Regions from separate parts of the Homo sapiens genome. Here regions 1, 2, 3, 4 and 6 are each linked to region 5. Evidence: promoter capture Hi-C in human tissues and cell types (Jung and others, 2019). All regions are on one chromosome and are shown on one strand. Each heading gives the region's core, a stretch centred on a gene start or on the middle of the fragment in contact. The rest is flanking DNA. Distances are from core to core; before and after follow the strand shown.

Evidence for each region. The method cuts DNA at HindIII sites, captures the fragments that hold promoters and counts their contacts. A contact is called where the count stands out against the background at its distance.
Region 1: a fragment that was not itself captured here is called in contact with the fragment with the promoter of NAT10 in region 5 in 4 of the 25 tissues and cell types used here (IMR-90 fibroblasts, hippocampus, lymphoblastoid cells and 1 more).
Region 2: a fragment that was not itself captured here is called in contact with the fragment with the promoter of NAT10 in region 5 in 1 of the 25 tissues and cell types used here (spleen).
Region 3: a contact is called between a fragment that was not itself captured here and the fragment with the promoter of NAT10 in region 5, in 1 of the 25 tissues and cell types used here (liver).
Region 4: a contact is called between a fragment that was not itself captured here and the fragment with the promoter of NAT10 in region 5, in 2 of the 25 tissues and cell types used here (lymphoblastoid cells and spleen).
Region 6: a contact is called between a fragment that was not itself captured here and the fragment with the promoter of NAT10 in region 5, in 1 of the 25 tissues and cell types used here (lymphoblastoid cells).

Annotation. Positions count from the first base shown.
Region 1 is chr11:33,863,849-33,867,343 of GRCh38, forward strand. It overlaps LMO2 (LIM domain only 2), which reads right to left. Exons shown (of 6, transcript NM_005574.4): 5 at 754-969. Among named protein-coding and RNA genes, the nearest start is that of LMO2, 26 kb to the right of the region's middle. The HindIII fragment of the contact is 9,832 bases long and covers 1-3,495 here.
Region 2 is chr11:34,283,892-34,287,181 of GRCh38, forward strand. The region is part of intron 1 of ABTB2 (ankyrin repeat and BTB domain containing 2); the gene reads right to left. Among named protein-coding and RNA genes, the nearest start is that of ABTB2, 72 kb to the right of the region's middle. RefSeq lists enhancers at 626-1,126, 1,127-1,627. The HindIII fragment of the contact is 3,486 bases long and covers 154-3,290 here.
Region 3 is chr11:34,254,788-34,258,089 of GRCh38, forward strand. The region is part of intron 1 of ABTB2 (ankyrin repeat and BTB domain containing 2); the gene reads right to left. Among named protein-coding and RNA genes, the nearest start is that of ABTB2, 100 kb to the right of the region's middle. The HindIII fragment of the contact is 4,651 bases long and covers 1-3,302 here.
Region 4 is chr11:34,335,114-34,338,737 of GRCh38, forward strand. The region is part of intron 1 of ABTB2 (ankyrin repeat and BTB domain containing 2); the gene reads right to left. It also overlaps the pseudogene MMADHCP2. Among named protein-coding and RNA genes, the nearest start is that of ABTB2, 21 kb to the right of the region's middle. The HindIII fragment of the contact is 6,139 bases long and covers 1-3,624 here.
Region 5 is chr11:34,104,157-34,107,812 of GRCh38, forward strand. It overlaps NAT10 (N-acetyltransferase 10), which reads left to right and starts at 1,473. Exons shown (of 29, transcript NM_024662.3): 1 at 1,473-1,636. RefSeq lists an enhancer at 1,226-1,685. The HindIII fragment of the contact is 6,988 bases long and covers 1-3,656 here.
Region 6 is chr11:33,970,052-33,973,490 of GRCh38, forward strand. No RefSeq gene overlaps it. Among named protein-coding and RNA genes, the nearest start is that of LMO2, 80 kb to the left of the region's middle. RefSeq lists a silencer at 1,011-1,305. The HindIII fragment of the contact is 6,594 bases long and covers 1-3,439 here.

The DNA.
Region 1 (3,495 bases), core at 917-3,416, 240 kb before region 5:
GAGCAGCTAACATCTATTTGATCCATACCAAGCCAAGTAGTTTATCTGCATTATTCCATCAAATCCTCCCCACATCCTTAGAGGTAGGTGCTATTATCATCCCCATTTTACAGATAAGGAAATCGAGGCTTAGGAAGGTTAAATAACTTGCCCAAGGCCACCAAGCTGGGAAGCAATGGTATTGGGACTCAAACCTCCAACTGCCTACAGGGCCTTTGCCTTTCTGCTCTTCGAAGACTGCCTTCCTGCTATGAGTCAATGCTTGGAGCTCCATATGCTTTCTATTTTTAAATTTCTCATCATATAATACTGGAGTCATACAAAAAAAATTTATAACATACATATATGTTCTGAAGCATTCAAATGAGGTCCTCAGAGCCCACCTCCAAACTTAGAAACACTCCCAGTCCCTCTGATCCTCCGTGTGTACTCCTCCTCAATCCCATCCCCTAGCTTCTCCCGCTCCCCAAGGGAAGCACTTTTCTGAATTTTGGGTATACAATTCTCTTGCCTTTAAAGATATTAGTATTTTACCACATAGGAACGTAACCCTGAGAACATGCTTCTCAAACAGGAAGAAATGCCCTCTGCTTCTCAGCACAGGAGCTGAGACTCAGCCTCTGCAGTCTGACCTCTTTCTATAGGTGGTGTCCGAGCCTGGAGCAGGGTAAGGGGCAACACACACCGACTGCAGATGTCCATGGACCACCCAGCCTCCCTTCCGAGGGCCCAGTGGAGTGCCGGGGAGGGTACCTGAGATAGTCTCTCCGGCAGAGCTTCCGGCCCAGTTTGTAGTAGAGGCGCCGCCCCACCTCACCCAGCCGGCAGCCACAGAGGTCGCAGCTCAGGCAGTCCTCGTGCCAGTACTGGTCGATGGCCTTCAGGAAGTAGCGGTCCCCAATGTTCTGCTGGCAGCCGCCGCATGTCAGCAGGGATGGGGGGATCTGCAGCACCTCATCCACTGGTTCCCTGGAGAGAAGGCCAAGCATCAGGGACAGCCTCACCAGAGTGAGACCAGCACCGAGGGTCCGAGATCGTTTTGGGCCAGACAGGGCATCTCACCTGACTGCCTTTCAGTGACCTAAGGGAGAAGGGACAGGACAACACATCCCTTGGCCAGACTGCAGAGTCCCAACCAACCTTGGGTTAAGACGGGAAAGAGCCAGACCTTACTCCCTAGATGTCTAAGAAGTAAACACAGGGCACCAAGAGGCATCAAAGGCAATTGCAGGTGGCACTGTGCCCCTGCCCATGCCCAGCACTACCTGGGCACCTCTGGTCTCCTTCTGCTTTTTCCCACTCTCCCCGCTGACTCTATCTTCACAGATCTCCCTCATTTTCCTCCTCCCATAACCTGGACACCCAAGGGCACTGCCTAACCTCAAAGGACGCACTCTGGACTAAAAGAGTCGCTCACTGCCAGGGCAGCAGATGACCCAGAGTGCTAAGAATCTGCAAATCCCCAGTGCCATCCTCCCTCCAGCCCTAACCAACTGCACAAAAGCAGAGGTGAGGAAGAAAGAAGAATGAGACCAAAAATTATTTTAGGTTGCTTTCTCTTTCCAAAATCAAAATTCCATCAGGACATAATAGGAATTCTCCTAATTTTACTTTTTTACAGAAATTCCATTTTCCATTCTTCCTACTGAAGGAATACTTGGAGGAAAATCCCATATCGTAAGGCCATTGTTACACGAAGGACATCAAATAGGCCTTTCTTTCCTTACCTGAACATTTTTATAAGAGTAAAATTGATTTGGATAAAGTTGATTTGAGGAAGAAAATGAAGTGGGGGCAATGATTATTTCAAAGAGAGTGGAAGGCAATTAAACAGACACTGACATCTCAATCCAGCAATTGTTAATAGGCTGTGACACGTGTTCTTTCGTTAATACGCCATGCATAGCATCTCCTGTTCACTTTGCTTCACTGGAATCTGAATACATTTTTACATTTAAAAATAAATAACTTTGCTAAAAGAAAATAAAGGAGTGGAAGGAATTATTCTAGTGTCCCCCACATGGGACACAGCAAACACTTAATACGTGTTGATTTATAATAATTAGCAAGTGTTCTCTGGAACCTTACTTAAACACAAATCTATTTCTTAAAAATCTATTATGTTTCAAAAAACAGACCTTCTTCCATCTGTAAAATTCCCAAAGGGAGTTTCCTCCTGGGTACCCTGCAGGTATAAATCCATGTCTCCTATTTCTAACTGGTACTAACTTACCAGGCGACCTTGTGTCCTAATTGGTCTGTGCCCATAAAGCCCAGCAGCCATTATACTTGGGGACAGGAGGCTAGGTGGCTCAATGTCTATAACACTCTGACAACTTCAGGTGATCCCGTCATGTGAAGTATGAAGTGTTCCTTATGAATATTTAGGAGTGCTAAAGCCATGCCCACACTTTCTAGACACAGTGTAACAGCACTTCATGAGACTATCATCTTTGGAACAAGAAAATGGGAAGCTCAAGTTAGTTTATCTGGGGAAAAAAAATGGCCAGGTACAGTGGCTCACGCTTGTAATCCCAGCACTTTGGGAGGCCAAGGCAGGAGGATCACTTGAGCCCAGGAGTTTGAGGCCAGCCTGGGCAACGTGGCAAAATCCTGTTTCTACAAAACATATAAAAAATTGCCCAGGCTTGGTGGCATGAGCCAGTAGTCCCAGCTACCCAGGAGGCTGAGGTGGGAGGATCATCTGAGCCCAGGAAGTTGAGGCTGCAGTGAGCACTGCACTCTAGACTAGACAACACAGTGAGACCCTAGCTCAAAAAAATTCAAAACTATAGTTTTTTGTTTGTTTGTTTTGAGACACAGTTTCACTCTTATTGCCCAGGCTGGAGTGCAATGGCACAATCTCGGCTCACTGCAACCTCCACCTCCTGGGTTCAAGTGATTCTCCCGCTTCAGCCTCCCGAATAGCTGGGATTACAGGTGTCCACCACCAGGCCCAGCTAATTTTTTTTATTTTAAGTAGAGACGAGGTTTCATTCACTGAAGCCTTGCTTTCTTTCCTTTGTTTCTACAGATTGTATATAAGGACTGCCATTTCCCCTTCTAATAACTAATACCCTAGCTTTTTCATGTGTATCAACTCAGAGTTGCATCTCTTCTCTTTCCACAGCCCATGGTCTTACTCTGGGCTTTCAAAACCACTCATGGAACCTGGACGCACATTGGATGTCCCGATGTTGATGCTGCCAAAGGACTGTGAAAGAAGAGAATTTGCCCTTAGCTGGTGCAAAACTGCCTGGAATTCAAATGAACTGCTCTTGTTACTCACAGGGGAGGCAGTGGGGGCCACCAGTAGCACAGCAAGGGAATCTGTGTTCATGAATTCTGGCTGGCTTTCTGTCCAAATGTTTCATTTGCATATAGCTAGGCAAGTCTCCATCTGTAATTTGGAGATGCTGATTGTAATGACCCAAGCTGGATTTGAGGAAGTACACAATGAAGCATCTAGTAGGATACTGGACAACAGGAGGAATG
Region 2 (3,290 bases), core at 647-3,146, 180 kb after region 5:
AGAGAGAATGCTTCACTAGCCAGTTTTATGGAAGTAAGTTGCTGAGTTCTCCAGCTTCTTGGTAAATCTAAAGGAGGGCTTCCCTACCTGGATTGATAATGCAGAGCATCTCAAACTGTGCCATGCACATGAATCCCTGGGATCTTGTCCAAACAGGGCTCTGATACAGGAGGTCTATGGTGGGGCTTTTGAGAGTCTGCATTTCTAACGAGCCCCCAGGTAATGCCGATGCTGCTGGTGCAGAGACCTCACTCTGGGCTGTAAGGCCCAATCCATGTCTCAGATAGAAGAACTGGGCTCAGCCCAGGGATGCTCAGCTGAACTGAGACAATGGGCCACGTCACATCATCCTGTAGGGCAGAGATGGCTCAGCTTTGGGAAACCTTTAGCTTCTCAGGCCACTGGTGATTAATGAGCAAATGACCCCCGTGTAACCCTAAAGGATTTGGATGATTTAATGTTCTTATCAAAATGGGCCATTTGCCAGAGTGACCAGAAGGATTGGCCCCAATGTCTGAGCTGCCTTACAGAACCTCTTTGTATAACCAGAATCACCCTTGGGTACCTGGAAAAGGCAGGCAGCACCAAAGCTTCTATTCAGAAACAGAACTTTAATCACACTAATAAATCGGCCTGCAAACAGGAATTATTGACTGGCTTCCATGAAAGCTGACGCTGGAAGAAAAGGTGTGAGAGTGGAAGACAGAGGTGAGGAGGTCATACTTAGGGTGAGTTGTTGACGGATGAACAAGAAGCAGGGGATGGGTAACTGTAACCAGAGAGGTGGAGAAAGCGGAGGGCTTAAACACACATAGGAACATTTATAAAATAAATAAATATTTGTAAATAAATTAAAATGATAAGAGATGGACCCAAGTCCAGCACTGCAGCCAGAAATCTGTCAGGAGGCCCTGAACACTGGCAGCAGGCTGTGTGCCTGCACACACCCCACCTGATACCGCCTGGAGCCAGAGGGGTGTTAATGAGGCTGGGTGGAGAGGCAGACCCCATTTTTCATCACTGACACTCAGACTGGCCGTCCTCAGCCCAGGACCCTGGCCAGTCAATCAGCTGCCAGCTCCGCTGTGTGTAAACACCTTCCATCCTCAGTCAGCAAAAGAGGCAGGTGCTGGAGATCTGGTCACGGTCAGTTGGACAATCTGATAAAGCCTTCCTGGGGTCGCTGTGGCCCAAGAACAGCCCTGGCATAATTAGACCAGGCGGAGGGGGGCTGTCAGGCAATCCAGGCGGAAATCACAGGGTCTCTGCCAATCAAAAGGAAACCCAACCGAGGGGACCGGTGGGGAGGGGGACATTTGCTGTACAAGTGGACAGTGGGGGAGGGGAGGTTTCCCCGAGGCTGGATGATGACTCTGGCAGGGCTACGCAGCTCATTATGCAAGCCCCAGAGTTAGGCGGGTGCTATCGATCACTATCGGGGGTCCCTGGGGATTCATCATTATATAGCAGGACCTAGTGCGTGCTTTGCTCTGGCGGTAACCAGAGGAACATGGCAATGCATCCTTGCCAACGGAAAACAGGGTGGCCCTTTTTTCCCCTCTTTTAATTATCTTGCAGGCCTTCTTAACCACAAAGGTGCAGAAATGGACAGTAATAACAAAAACACCTCAAAAGGTTTGTAGTTTACAAGGCCATTCTATACGTGCAATCTTAGGGAGGCCAGGCGAGGGTTCATCCTTAAGATAGCATGGCTGGGAACACAGGGGCCTGCTGCTCTACCCTGGAGCCGTCACACGTGCACAAAATGCTAGATTCACTCAGGGATTTCAGTATTTTTAAGAGCTGGGTAGCGCTCTCCAACCACTCTCCCAGCATGGGCCTCTATGACATCTCAATTGGCTGGGTGCTTCTGACTGCTTTTTGGGAAGAGATGCCCAGGTTACTGAGAGGCAAGCACTTCTTTTACTCCGTTGTTTCTTCTTTTACTAAGCTAAAAGTTCCCCTCCTGCATCTTGTGTCTGTAACTGGGATGGTCTAAACTTGATGGGCAGCCTCTGTCCTGGGCCTACTTGCACCTTGGGAAAGGAGTCTCTTGGTACATTGCCCAAATAAATTCAACTCAATGACCCAATACTATAGTTGGGGAAAACAAAAGAGATTTACATTGCACATTTATAGAAGAAAACATTATAATCGCCTGTAGTCTCAGCTACTTGGGAGGCAGAGGCAGGATGACTGCCTGAGCCCAGGAGTTTGAGGCCAGCCTGGGCAACATAGAAAGACCCTGTCTCAAAAAAAAAAAAATTAGTAAAGAAAAATTTTAGGCTGGATGTGGTGGCTCACACCTGTAATCCCAGCACTTTGGGAGGCAGAGGCAGGAGGATCGTTTGGAGCCAGGAGTTCAAGACGAGCCTGGGCATCACGGTGAGACCCTACTTTATTATTTTTATTATTATTTGAGACGGAGTCTTGCTCTGTTACCCAGGCTGGAGTTCAGTGGCACGATCTCGGCTCACTGCGACCTCTGCCTCCCCAGTTCAAGCGATTCTCCCGCCTCAGCCTCCTGAGTAGCTGGGATTACAGGCACCCGCCACCACACCCAGCTAATGTTTGTATTTTTAGTAGAGATGGGGTTTCACCATGTTGTCCAGGCTGGTCTTGAACTCCTGACCTCAAGTGATCCACCTGCCTTGGCCTCCCAAAGTGCTGGGATTACAGGCATGAGCCACCATGCCCGGCCTCAAAATATTTTAAAAAAGATCCCCCTTTCCATTCCTAGGTTCCTTCGCCAGCACCCTTCTTCCAGCATCCACCTCTAGATCTCCCATTCCTGTTTTTGGTTCTCACCATCCATCACCATTTTCATGCTGTTTCTGCTCTTCTCATCATTCCCAGCAAAACAAAAGCCTTTTAGCTAGGACTCTCAACATGTCTCCCCTTGGAGGCTTAGAAACATATTCACGGACATTATGCTGAGTAAAAGAAACCAGCCTCAAAAGCTTATATACTGCATGACTCCATTTATATGATATTCACACAAGACAGAACTACCACCATGGAGAACAGATTGGTGGTTGCCGGGGCTGGGGGAGGGAAGGGTGTGACTATCAGGCATAGCAGGAGGGAGCTCTGGAGGGATGGAACTGTTCTGCCTCCTCATCATGGTGGTGGTTGCACAAATGAATACATGTGTTAACTCATAGGACTTGGGCTGGGTGCTGTCATGGCTCATGCCTGTAATCCCAGCACTTCGGGAGGCTGAGGTGGGAAGACTGCTTGAGCCCAGGAGTTCAAGACCAGCCTGGGCAACATAGTAAGACCTTGTCTTT
Region 3 (3,302 bases), core at 690-3,189, 150 kb after region 5:
CAGCCTCCCGAGTAGCTGGAATTATAGGCACTTGCCACCACACCTGGCTAATTTTTGTATTTTTAATAGAGACAGTGTTTCCACCATGTTGGCCAGGCTGGTCTCAAACTCCTGACCTCAAGTGATCTGCCAGCCTCACACCTCTGAGATTACAGGTGCGAGCTACCATGCCCAGCCCTGATTTTATTTTAATTAATTTAAATGTAAATAGCCACATATGGTTAGTGGGTACTATACCGGACAACAAAGGCATAAAGCCAAATTTTGCACAAATTACTTCCATCCATACCATATCATTCAATGTTCACAACAAGCAAACAGAGCACATTTATGCCATTTACAGATGAGAAAACTGAAATTCAGAGATCTGGCTCAAGCTGAATCGGATTAAGCACTTCACTCTCTAAACTCCTAAACTATTTCCATTGTGTGATCTTCTCCTAAACTTGACCTCTAGCCTAAGGGCCTAGAGTAATTGTCCTGCCCAGGAGCCCTATCAGGATCCACATCACTTTCTCACCTTTCCCCTCAACTCTGGGAAGTAAAAGGAAGGAATGCACCCAGCAGAGAACGGTACAGACAGCCCATGGCAGGGATCTCCTCAGATCAAAAAGGACAAGGTGCTCAGGATTCAAAATCCTTTAAGCTGCTCCATGGTTCTAAGTTATATTTCTAAAAATTAGAAAAGTGAGTCAGAAATTAAAAACTTCTTTTTTTTTTTTTGAGACACAGTCTCGCTCTGTTGCGCAGGCTGGAGTGTAGTGGCACAATCTCAGTTCACTGCAACCTCAAGCGATTTCAACTTCAACTCAAGTTCAACTTCAACTTCAAGCAATTCTTGTGTCTCAGCCTCCCAAGTAGCTGGGACTACAGGTACGTGCCACCACACTTGGCTAATTTTTATATTTTTGTAGAGACAGGGTTTCACCATGTTGCCCAGGCTGGTCTTGAACTGCTGAGCTCAAGTGATCCGCACGCCTCGGCCTCCCAAAGTGCTGGGATTACAGGCGTGAGCCACCAGGCCCGCCCAGAAATTAAATACATTTTTTTTCCCCTCCTCTACCGGTCTTATCCGAGGAGCCATAAAAATAGAGGGGGAGAAATGTGATCCCACAATGGCCTCAAGGACATTCCAAATGTCTTCTTAAGTAAAACCCAACTCCTGATCATTTCCTTTCGGGCATCACTACCCAGCCCAGTTTTCAGGACATCAGCATTCAGTCCAAAATGGTGCAGAACCCACTAGGTGGAGATTAAGTCCTCACAAAACACCCTGGCACTAGCCCAACACCTATTTCTGTTCCTGCGTAAAATCCAACCAAAGAGTCTCAGCAACTGTGTTGTCCACACTGCCGTCGGTTTTATCATCTACTTGTGGGGGGTGGGGCGGGGGGCACCTAGAGACAAATAAATCACACGAGGAACAGTCAGATGGAAAACATAAACTTAATAAAACACAGACAGAAAATAAACCACTGGCCCAGCCACTAGTGACCAGTGCAATGTTGTCTTTCTCCCCCCTCCCTTCTGGTCCCTGGTGAATGCCCCCTAATTCTGGGAAAGGCTCCCTTTCGTCTTCTGAGTCAGTCTTGAAGGAATACTGCAGTATTTCAGCCTTGGGTTTCTAGCAGAGAAACAAACCCGGTTTTGTCATATAATTTTCTGCACCTCCACTGAAATAACACATCATTTGTGGATCCGTGCTAAAGCAAACACCATATGGTGGCTGTGTAAAAAGCTGTCCGGGGTTCTGACCTTCCAGTTGTAGGGGGTTTGTTTGGGAAAAGAAGCCAGGGTTGGGGGAGAATCAAGTCGCTAATGAGACATGGTGTCGGCAACCTGTACAGTGTGACATTTGGGGGCTTGGTGGAGGACGAGGTTGGTGTCAGGTTCCAAACACTCAAGGCAAAATCACCAATGACTTTTTTGTTTCCCAAGTGAAAAATGGTTCATGAAGTCTATTTTCCCAGTCTCTTATCTCAACACTCACGCTCTTTCACTCCGGAGGGGACGGACGGAGAGCCACAGGCTAACCAAGAGGAAAATTACAACCTAAAAAATCTTGCTGGCAAATTCTCCGTTTTGTGGACTGTCATGGCTGTGCAGCTGCAAGGATGAGACAGAGTTTGTCCTGTCTCTGGCCAGATTTCTTGAGTTGCTCTGAACTGCTACCCAACCAGGGCTCATCTACACACAGAGCCACTCATAGTAGTCAAATGCCTTCTGAGCAGCTTAGCTGGTAAAACACAAACTTATTTAAGAAATATTAAAGTTCTGAATATACAGTGCAACTTCATTATTCCTCACACATGAAATGACCCCAAGTGTTAGTACAAATAGCAGGTGGCCTATGGTCCGATGAAGTGGGCTTGTTATGAAGATAGGTCTTAATACCAACCTCTGAATTCTGACTTGTCCATTCAGAACACCATGGTGGAAAAAATGAAAAGAAAATGAACCCAAGAGCCACACGTGGCTCAGGAAGATGTGGCTCTATGGCAGCAGAGAAGGAAGAAAAAGCGACTGCAGCATTTAGAATTGGTACTTATCAAAAGCAACCCAGAGCGCCACATCTCCAGGAGGCCTCTAAGAGGTGAAGGTGGAGGAGAGTTTTTACACTAGAAACGGGCACAGAACCCAGCCAAGGAAAGAGAAGGCTTGCCATCATATACTCAGATGAATCAGGTAGCCTCTAGAACTTTCTGTAATGGTGACAGTGCTCTGTATCTGTGCTGTCCAACACAGTAGTCACTAACCCACACAATCATCGAGCATTTGAAATGCAGCTAATACGACTGAGGAGTGACTTCTTTTTTTTTGAGACAGGATTTCGCTCTGTTGCCCAGGCTGGAGTGCAGTGGTGCAAACATGGCTCACTGCAGCTTCGACCTCCTGGACTCAGGCATTGTCCTATGTCAGCCTCCTGAGTAGCTGGGGCTACAGGCGTACACCACCACATCTGGCTAATTTATTTTTATTTTCTGTAAAGATAGGGTCTTGCTATGTTGCCCAGAATGGTCTGAATGGTCTCAAACTCCTGGGCTCAAGCAATCCACCTACCTCACCCTCCCAAAGTATAGGGATTACAGGCGTGAGCCACTGCACCTGGCCTTGAGGAGATATTCTCTACCTAGGGGTTGTTAATAATCACATGGACCCACCTAATCCCTCCAAAGCACATCCCAATCAGTCACAGGCCATGCTACCCCAGTCTCCCTGAGTCCCCAGCCCAGAGTCCCTCAAGGAGGCAAGGCCCAGGCAGGGGCAGCAGAGCCTTCAGGCAGTTCTCTAATGACCCCTGC
Region 4 (3,624 bases), core at 259-2,758, 230 kb after region 5:
CTAATTTCCACTTAATTTCTTCATAATATGGCTGTCTGGTGTTGCATTAGTGAAGATGCTTCCTACAACTACACGGGTACCCCAGAGACTATGACGAATCACTTTAAGCATCGAAGGTCATCAACAGAGAATCCTAAATGTCGGTAGCATTCATCAGTTTCAAAAAGATTGTTGTTTGTATATGGTCCAAAAAAATGCCAAACCAGATGATGGGTCAGTAAAGTCAGCCCAATATCCCTCAGCACAAAGAGTACAGCAAATTTCCTTAGCAACATTGATGAACTTTTCTAAGAGCACTTCTCTTTCAGTTTCTACTTCTTCACTCTAAACAGTCATATTATTCTTAGTTTTCTGTGTTACAGTCAGAATGATTAATTTGCTATTAGCTACTTCTGGAAACAGTGATTCAAAATCTTTTCGCCACAATTCTGGACACGTTTGTATTGCACACTCCACTCTGGCACTTTCAAAGTTAAGTTTCTGCACTGTTAATTTCTTGTTCAACAGGTGCATCATTACCCTGAAATTCATTCACATATTGTGTCATCACAAACTTGTGTCTTTCACTTGATAAAGTTTCTGCTAGAACATCAGGCAAAGTTTTATAAAGCAGGCTTTTCTTCTGTGAAGCAGTCCCATTGAGGTGACAATCAAAACCTATGATCCCAGGAAGCTTGAACCTCTGATCTTGAGGTCCAAACGGTCCCATAGTTTCATCAGGCCACACCTTTTGAGAGCATATATCTGGAGGTAGAGCGGCCACATGAGACACCTAAACCTGACAATCCTGCGGTTGAAAAGGCTTTGGGATTGCCAACGTTTTAACTAAAGAGTAAAATCCTGGGAGATAGGAAAACAGTCTGGCTCTGTTACAAAGCACATTGGCCAACTCTACTGGAGGGGACAGTTCACTAAATAGCTTTCCTTTGGTAAAGTTATTCCAGTCACCACCACTGTCTCCAGCTGTCCCAGAACCTGACGTTCCTGCCATCCAATATTTGTTTTTAATTTCTCTACATTGTATTGTGCTGTAATATAATCTTTTGAGCTTATTTTTTTCACTTACTACTAAAGCTTATTCAACTAATTTTTCCTCCTATTCATTCAATGTCAGCTGAGCCCATGCACCTTCTGAGAAGCATTGTTTACACTTTTGCATTTCACATTTACAACACCATAAGGCAGGTACTACTATCATTCCAAGTTTATAGATTAAAAAACAAATAGGTTGAGGTACTTGCCTAGCACCACATTAAAAAAGCAGCCAGGCCAGGCACAGCATTCTGGGAGGCTGAGGCAGGAGGATTGCTTGAGGCCACAAGTTTGAGACTAGCCTGGCCAACATAGTGAGATCTTATCTCTATAAAAAATTTTAAAAAATTATCTGGGTGTGGTGACTTGTGCCTGTAGTCCCAGCTGTTTGGAAGGATCAGGTGGAAAGATCACTTGAGCCCAGGAGTTTGAGGTTGTCATGAGCCATGATCGTACCACTACACTCCAGCCTAGGTGACAGAGGGAGGCCCTGTCTCAAAAAAAAACAAAACAAACAAACAAACAAAAAAAAGCAGCTTACCTGCAGTTAGACCCGGGTTTGTTTCCAAAGCCCTTATTTCCCTACTGTAAGACTCAGGGTTAATGCTTGCATATGGGTGGGCTCCCTCCCCATGCCAAAGGAAGGGTGGCCAAAGATAACCCCCAAACTGGTAATCATCATCACCATCATCATGACTAACATACGGGAGACTCACACACCAGGTCCTGTTCCAAGCATTTTACGAGGTGTAGTTCATTTAATCTTGTCCACAACTATCATATGAGGGAAACAGGATTATCCCTATCTTACAGACAAGTAAACTGAGGCACCGAGATATGAAGTAATTTGTCCAAGAAGAAGTGGAGCCAAGATTTGAATGCAGGCAGTCCAGCTTCATACCCACACCGTCAATCACAAGGCCCTACTGCTTCTCAGTTTACTGAGGAGGACAACCACCTGAGTGCAAGTGAGTGGATTCGGATGAGTGCTGGCTAAGAGGAGGCCTGTGCTGGGCTTGCACCTGGGTGGAAACTGCAGCACTTCCGGAACCTGGCTTATTTGTTGAGGAAGGCCCCGATTCTGCGCCTGTCTGGGGAGAAGAGTTGCATGCAGGGGCTGTGTAGGGAAGGAGGCAGGGGTTGAGGAGGAGGAACAGCAGACCACAACACAGACAGCCTTAGGACGGGCACAGCTGACTGGCTGCTGGTCTCAGCCTAGGGAAATAACAAGGTTCTCAAAGCCAGGACTGGAAAGGCCAAAGGGCCGTACCTTGAGGAAAGATGGCACAAGCAGCTTTCTCAAAAAATTCTGACACTGTACTTATAATGCAGGATTCTTATTTGACCCAATAGCCTAATGCTTTTGATTAAAACTTTCAGCATGGAAAACGTGGGCTTTGAAGTCTGACAGTACTAATCTCAAACGCTGGCTCTGCTACTTGTGTGTATGGGTGACCTCGAGCAAGTCATTTCAACTATCTCAAGGCCTCAGTTTCCTCATTTGTAAAATGAGGATAAATAATGTGACCTACAGCTCACAGGCTGTAGTGAGGATTCCACAAGATACTGCATGCAAATCACTAGTGTCCTGCTCACCTCATAGTAGGCATTCGGCAAATAACAACCTATATTTTTATCACCACCGACTCATCACATTTGGTTGGAAAAATTAAACGAGATAGCATCCAATAAACATTGGTTATCTTTCTAACACCTCTCCCCACCTCCCCCTACTCAAATCACCCTAACCATGATCTCCATCTTACCACCCACAGAGAAGACCCTCAAAGACTGGCCTTTCCCAAACTGTACATCCTCAAGAGGGTCCTTTGCCCCATACATACTGTGAGAGGAGCGCAGAATAAAATCCACCCCCAGTGATGTAGATGGAATTCACAAACCTGCCCGTTTATCTAGAATCGCCGCAAGAGTTGCTTTAAAAATACAGATGTCGGCCAGGCACAGTGGCTCACACCTGTAATTCCAGCACTTTGGGAGGCCAAGGAGGGTGGATCACCTGAGATCAGGAGTTCAAGACCAGCCTGGCCAACATGGTGAAACCCTGTCTCCATGAAAAGTACAGAAATTAGCTGGGTGTGGTGGCGCATGCCTGTAATCCCAGCTACTTAGGAGGCTGAGGGAGGAGAATTGCTTGAACTCAGGAGATGGAGGTTGCAATGAGCTGAGACTGCACCACTGCACTCCAGTCTGGGTGACAGAGTGAGACCACTTCTCAAAAAAGAAAAGAAAAAAAAAATACAGATGTTCTGGTCGGGAATGGCGGCTCACACCTGTAATCCTGGCACTTTGGGAGGTCGAGGTGGGTAGATCACTTGAGGTTAAGAGTTTGAGACCAGCCTGGCCAACATGGTGAAACCCCATCTCTACTAAAAGTACAAAAAAAAAAAAAATTAGCCGGGCGTGGTGGGGTGCACCTGCAGTCCCAGCTACTTGGGAGGCTGAGGTGGCAGAATCACTTGAACCGGGGCAAGGCTTGCAGTGAGCTGAGATCACACCACTATACTCCAGCCTGGATGACAGAGGGAGACTTCCTCTCAAAACAAAACAAAAAAACAGATGTCTTAGCCCCAC
Region 5 (3,656 bases), core at 223-2,722:
GAATTTCTCAATATTCCAAGTCAACTCCTTGATTACCCAACACCAGTTGTTCATTCATCCAGTTGCTCAGAGCAAATGTTTTGGGTGCCATCTTCAATGTACTTTTATAACCTGCATCTAATCCTTAAGTGAGTCCACGTGGTTCTAACTTGAATATCCAGAGTTATCTTATACTTCTAACTACTACCACAACTACCATCCTAGCACAGGTGACTACAATAGCTTATAATTGTTCTCCTTTTTCTACTTTTGCCTTCCTGTGATTTAGTTTTTGCATAACAGGAAGCCTTTTAAGAGGGCAAAGCAGATTTTCTCATTTCCCTGTCCCCCACAAACTCCAGTGGTTTCTCATCATGACTAGAATTAAATTCTAAATCTGGTCCTTCACTTGCCCACTGCTTTGGCCACACTGACTGCTTTGCCAGGACTCCCCCATCTTGGAGCTTTTGTATGTACATCTTTGGCACGGGGAAGTTTTTCACTCATATTCTCAGGGCTCATTCTTTCTAAATTTCAGGTCCTTGTTCCATCCAGTGTCACCCCGTCAGAGGCCTTCAGTGTTCGTTTCTAAAATAGTATCCTTAGTCACTTTACTCACTGGATACTTCTGCTTAATAGCATTTAAAACTTAACCTAGAATTAACCACGAGGGGCAGGAACATTTTGGACACTATCCCTTGTGAGCAGAATAGTGCGTGGGCATATTCACATTTTGCTGAATGAACTAAAAAATTTCATGATGGATGTTGGATTAAATGGGTAGTGCTGCTGATGACATTAAAAGTGTATCTGGGGAAGGGGTTTGGATTCAGACATTTGCGGTATCCAGGAGGAAACATCAAGCAGTTGATAATGTTTTTTGAAGTTCAGCGATCTGCCCCAAAGTCAAGAATGCAACACTATGTATAGGTTGTCCCTGTAGTCATGTTCTTGGAGTTCACTGGAAGCCCAGGGGGAGTAATTTCATTTGACGACCATATACAGGCCTAATGGGAGCCTGCAAAGTACAGCGGCCGCAGTCATGGGTAGATTACAGGATTCCCATCTGTAAGATCAGTACTGTGGGGGTGGAGGGCCAAGCGAAACCAATAAAATAGGTCTGTTGGCCGAGTTTCCTCAACTTAACGGGGATCGGTTAAATTGAACACAAATCGTTGGATCCGTCGCGTTTCGCGTAACCAGGCTGACGCTGAAAACCCTGGACCTACGTGGGCAGGCCCTGGGGTGCGGACATCTATTTTGCCCTTCTTAGCCGAGGTACTTTAGCTGGGATATGAAGAGTGAAGAGGCAAACCGCAGCCAACACCCAGCTACCGCGAGCAGTGGGACTAAAATGCGCAACCGCAGTGGACATCTAGGCCTCAGCTCCGCTTCTGGTGGCTTACGTCATTACTCAGCGACAGCCTTGAGGAAGGTCCCTTCTCGCTCGCCATCTCTGCGACTTTAATGCGCTTGCGCACGTGCTGTCTACCAGTTCCTGAGAGGGACGCGTGCCGCGGAGCCAGGCTTACTACGTGACCCGGACACCAGGCATACGCTAGGGGCAGTCAGCTGTGCCTTCTCTTTCGGAGTTGTTCCGTGCTCCCACGTGCTTCCCCTTCTCCACTGGCTGGGATCCCCCGGGCTCGGGGCGCAGGTACCCAACGCGGGAGGGCCGGGTATGGATGCCAAGATCGGTGTCTGTGTTCTTCCTGGGTCGAGAGGGGACCGGCCTCAGGATGAAGGCTCTGCATCCGGACGGATACCTGGCCTACGCCGTTTGTCCTCCACCCCTCTTTTGGGGCGCTCCAAGATAACAGAATCACCTCTCCAATACGCAGCCGCTCTCGGCGCGTGCTTCTCGAGCGTCCTCGGGGATTTGCGTGGCTCGATAACCACCTCTAAGTAGTGCCTGTAACTGGGGAGTCGGGGTGAATGGGTGGGTGACAACAGTTGTTTTCCGTGGAGCTTGCCCGCAGTGCCTGGCTGCAGGTCTGGGCATTATACTTAGGGTAATCTGATTCCAGATCCTTCCACGTTCTTAAATCCTTCACTGTGCACATTCCTTTATACTCTTTATTCAGCAGTCACATTCAGGACTTGGTTTTGTTTGCCAGTGCACCTAAAATGGTGCCTGCCACATAGATGTTATGTGTAGATAGACGAATGAGTGAGCGAAAAATAATCATCTCCTTCAAGGCCTTCCCCATCCAGGCCTTCCATGACAGCTTCAGCCCATAGTAATCTCAGCCCTTCCTTCATCTGACCGGTCCCTCAGTATAGCTATTTTTTTTTTTTTTACATCTAATTTTACCTGTGTTCTTGTTCCTCATCTCATTCTCTTAAATACCTTCTTCAAGAAGAATGCAAGCTTGAAGTCAAGGGCCTTGTGGTACTACTTCTGGGGCTCCCACAGTAGCTAGAGCAAAAGGCAGCCCCCATTAATTAGTTGTTGATTGATTTTTGCGGGATCTTTATGTGGCCGGCAACACAAGGTTTACAAGTTGGGAAGATTGGCGAACTGGGAAGAGCTCAGGCTTTGGAGTCAGGAAGACTTGAGTGTGAATTCTGTCTGTCGTTTTTCTGCCTCGGGATATTTGAATTCTTTATACTTTCTCCTTTACGTATAAATTGGGGTCCTTGACAGTGACTTAGTGTTTTATAGTAAGACATATGCTAAAATCTGTTTGGATTGGAAGGTTAGAAGGGACAGTTAAGGTATGGTAAGTTTCAGTAAATGAGCTTTATGTTTATAATGCAGTAGGTACCAGAGTTTCTAAGTAGCATGTCACTTTTACATCTAAGTAGCATGTTACTTTTACAGTGATATTTCTGATGGTTTTTTTGATGTATTTATTGGGATGATGCAGTATTTTACTGTAGGTAATCACAGAACTTTTTTTTTTTTTTTTTTGAGACGGAGTCTCACTCTGTCGCCTAGGCTGGAGTGCAATGGCACACCATCTCGGCTCACTGCAACTTCCGCCTACCGGATTCAAGTGATTCTCTTGCCTCAGCCTCTCCTGCAGCTCCACTACCACTCCCGGCTAAGTTTTGTATTTTTAGTAGAGACGGGGTTTCGCCATACTCTTGAATTCCTGACCTCAGGTGATCCACCCGCCTCGGCCTCCCAAAGTGCTGGGCTTACAGGCATGAACCACCACTCCCGGCGAGAACTTTTGAGGTCTGTCTGTACAAAGGCTTCAATATCGTTTTCCCTAAAATGAGGAAACAGTTGGACACATTACATCATGGAATTATTCATTGATGGTTATTGATTTCCCTGACTTTATTAGTAACACGTGAATTTTTTAAGATTCCACAAAAACAAAAGAACAAAATAAAAGTCCCACCATCCAGAAGTAGCTACTTTATACTTTGGTATTTCCTTCCAGTCTTTTTTATTTTTCCCTCTGTTATGTGTATGCATAAGAAATGTTATCATACTTTATTCTGTCATGATCTTGTCATAAGCATCTATATCCATATCCTTAGTTGTTAAAAATGCTTGGCCCAGCATGGTGGCTCACACCTGTAATCCCAGCCCTTTGGGAGGCTGAGGTGGGCAGATTGCGAGGTCAAGAGATCGAGACCATCCTGGCCAACATATGCGCCTGTAGTCCCAGCTACCTGGGAGGTTGAGGCAGGAGGATTGCTTGAACCCAGGAAGCAGAGGT
Region 6 (3,439 bases), core at 860-3,359, 130 kb before region 5:
AAAAAAATTAGCCAGGTGTGGTGGTGTGTGCCTGTAGTACCAGCTACTCAGGAGGCTGAGGCAGGAGGATCTCTTAAGCCTGGCAGACAGAGGTTGCAGTGAGCCAAGATCGTGCCACTGCACTCCAGCCTGGACCACAGAGCCAGACCCTATCTCAAAAAAAGCTTTACTAATGACTTACTATTAATATGTACCAGGTACTTTGCTAGGCCCTATGAATACAGAAATGAAGGGCATGGTTTCTTCCCTCAAGAAACGCATGGTCCACTGGGAGAATGAGGCATTTAGGGAAATAATTTCAACATTTCCTAGGTGACAAGTATAATAGAGATACAGTTATACTGAGTAGAACCACTCAGTGCTACAACTAGACTTTAAGCCGGCCACTCTGGGATCATTCAGTGTGGCCATGTTTATCTTGCATAGTGACCACGAGAATGAAAAGAAGAGCTAGGAAATAAATATCTCCACTGTCCTGATCTGAGTGTTGTCATTTAAAGGATGCAGTCCAGAACTGTAACTGATTTATTTAGCAGGTGGCTAACTTAAAAAAAAAAACCCTAGTATTAATTTCATGAAATGTTATCAGGCCCATCCTACACTAATGAAATGAGAGATAGATGAGAGATAGGCAGATAGATAGATAGATAGATAGATAGATAGATAGATAGAGAGATAGATAGATAGATGGATAAACATTTTGCATGTTTCATCCCTGGTAAATATCCTCTTATTTCAGTCTAGCAAAGCTCTCATATACAATACCAGGCCTTAGGAATCAAGGTCCAATTTCCAGCTCCATTATTTCAACCTCCAAGACCTACCTCATAGGTCTGTTGAGGGCATTAAAAGAAACAATGAATGAAATGATCTGGCACGTTGTAAGCCCCATAGTTGGTGCTCAATAAATGCTAGTAATATTTACTTGTGGCTTACTGGTTCCTCAAGATTCCTTAAAATCTGAATCTGGACACCCAATGTATGAGGCTGCGCTTCAGCTTCATGTCAGCTGCAAACCTGACAGGGTGTCTTCTAATTTTCAATAATCACTCCACTCCCAACTCCATTCCTCATCCGCATCTGCTTCCCTTCCATTTCCATCTTTGCTCGGCCCAAGTATCAGGCGCTATCTCAGAAGGTTGACAAACCAGCATTGCCACCTGGAGGACAGCATGAGAATCTGGGTGAGAGAACAATTTTATGGCACCAGATAAACCAACTCAGCTGTTCTGTGCCGGCACTAACGAGGCCAAGTTCAGAGGTTCATCCCCCAAAGGGGCCAATTAGCTTTACACTGAGAGGCACTCCGGAGTGCAGCCCCAGCCTCTAACCTTGGCCCCCAAGTTACACGTGTGTGGCTGTTGGTTAGAAGTGAATTCATCAATCCAATCCCATTTTTCATAATTTCTTTAAAACCCAGTTGTAAGGCAGCGTGGAAACAACAAAAATGCACAAGACCTTCTCCTTCCTCTTAAAGAAGCTTCAGCCTGCAACAGTGTTTCCCCAAATGAATCCTGAGACATTAATAGGAGTTATGAGAATAAGTGGCTCCAGTGTTAAATCAGTTTGGAAAACACTGATCTAATCAAAGTCGAGGAGCTTGTTTACGAAAGGGCTTTGCAGAGCTTGCTACATGCTAATATGCACGTGCTAATTTTCCAAGAAGGAAATGCAGTGTGCAGAGCTTCACAGATTTGGACAGCCATGGGCATCCGCACCTTTAAAAAAAAAAAAGAGGCCGGGCGCGGTGGCTCACACTTGTAATCCCAGCACTTTGGAAGGCCGAGGCGGGCGGATCATGAGGTCAGGAGATCAAGACCATCCTGGCTGACACGGTGAAACCCTGTCTCTACTAAAAAAAATACAAAAACTCAGCCGGGCGTGGTAGCGGGCGCCTGTAGTCCCAGCTACTCGGGAGGCTGAGGCAGGAGAATGGCGTGAACCTGGGAGGCGGAGTTTGCAGTGAGCCGAGATCGCGCCACTGCACTCCAGCCTGGGCGAGAGAGCGAGACTCCGTCTCAAAAAAAAAAAAAAAGAAAAGAAAAGAAAAAGAAAAGAAAAGAAAAAAGAAAAGAATAGTAACGAATCTACTGGCCCAGGATATGGCTACTTTCAATGGAACATCTATTTTAAGAAGCAATTCATCCATGGCAAAGGTTCACAGTCTATTGCTAAGTTTAAAAAACCAGGAAGGGGGAAGCATACTGTAGAACAATATCGCGTTTTGAAAAGATAGAAAAAGATGTACATATACTTGGGAGAATAAAAAACAAAAAGACACAAACCAAAATGTTAGCAGCTGTGATCTTTTTGTTGGGAGTGGTAGTTGTTTTTCTGTGCTCTGCTTTTTAAGTTTTCTGCCGTAAACATACAGCACGTGTTAATTTTAAAATGAAACCACCGGCCAGGCGTGGTGGCTCATGTCTGTAATCCCAGCACTTTAGGAGGCCGAGGTGGGCAGATCACCTGAGGTCAGGAGTTCGAGACCAGCCTAGCCAAAATGGCGAAACCCCGTCTCTACTACAAATACAAAAATTAGCCAGGTGTGGTGGCATACACCTATAATCCCAGGTACTCGGGAGGCTGAGGCAGGAGAATGGCGTGAACCTGGGAGGCGGAGTTTGCAGTGAGCCGAGATCGCACCACCGCACTCCAGCCTGGGCGACAGAGCGAGATTCCGTCTCAACTAAAAAAAAAAAAAAAAAAAAAAAAAAAAAGAGGAAGAAGAAAAGAATAGTAACGAATCTACCGGCCCAGGATATGGCTACTTTCAATGGAACATCTATTTTAAGAAGCAATTCATCCATGGGAAAGATTCACAGTCTATTGCTAAGTTTAAAAAACCAGGAAGGGGGAAGCATACTGTAGAACAGTATCACATTTTGAAAAGATAGAAAAAGATGTACATATACTTGGGAGAATAAAAAACAAAAAGACACAAACCAAAATGTTAGCAGCTGCGATCTTTTTGTTGGAGTGGTGGTTGTTTTTCTCTGCTCTGCTTTTTAAGTTTTCTGCCGTAAAGGTACAGCACGTGTTAATTTTAAAATAAAACTACCGGCCAGGCATGGTGGCTCATGCCTGTAATCCCAGCACTTTAGGAGGCCAAGGTGGGCAGATCACCTGAGGTCAGGAGTTTGAGACCAGCCTGGCCAACATGGCGAAACCCCGTCTCTACTAAAAATACAAAAATTAGCCAGGCATCGTGGCATGCACCTATAATCCCAGCTACTCGGGAGGCTGAGGCAGGAGAATCGCTTGAACCCTGGAGGTGGAGGTTGCAGTGAGCCAAGATCATGCCACTGCACTCCAGCCTGGGTGACACAGCAAGACTCCATCTCAAAAACATTTAAAAATGTAAAAAATTAAAAAATAAAACCACAAAGCCCTTGTTTTAGGACAGTGTACCATCTTCATATGACTATTATTGTGGAATGCA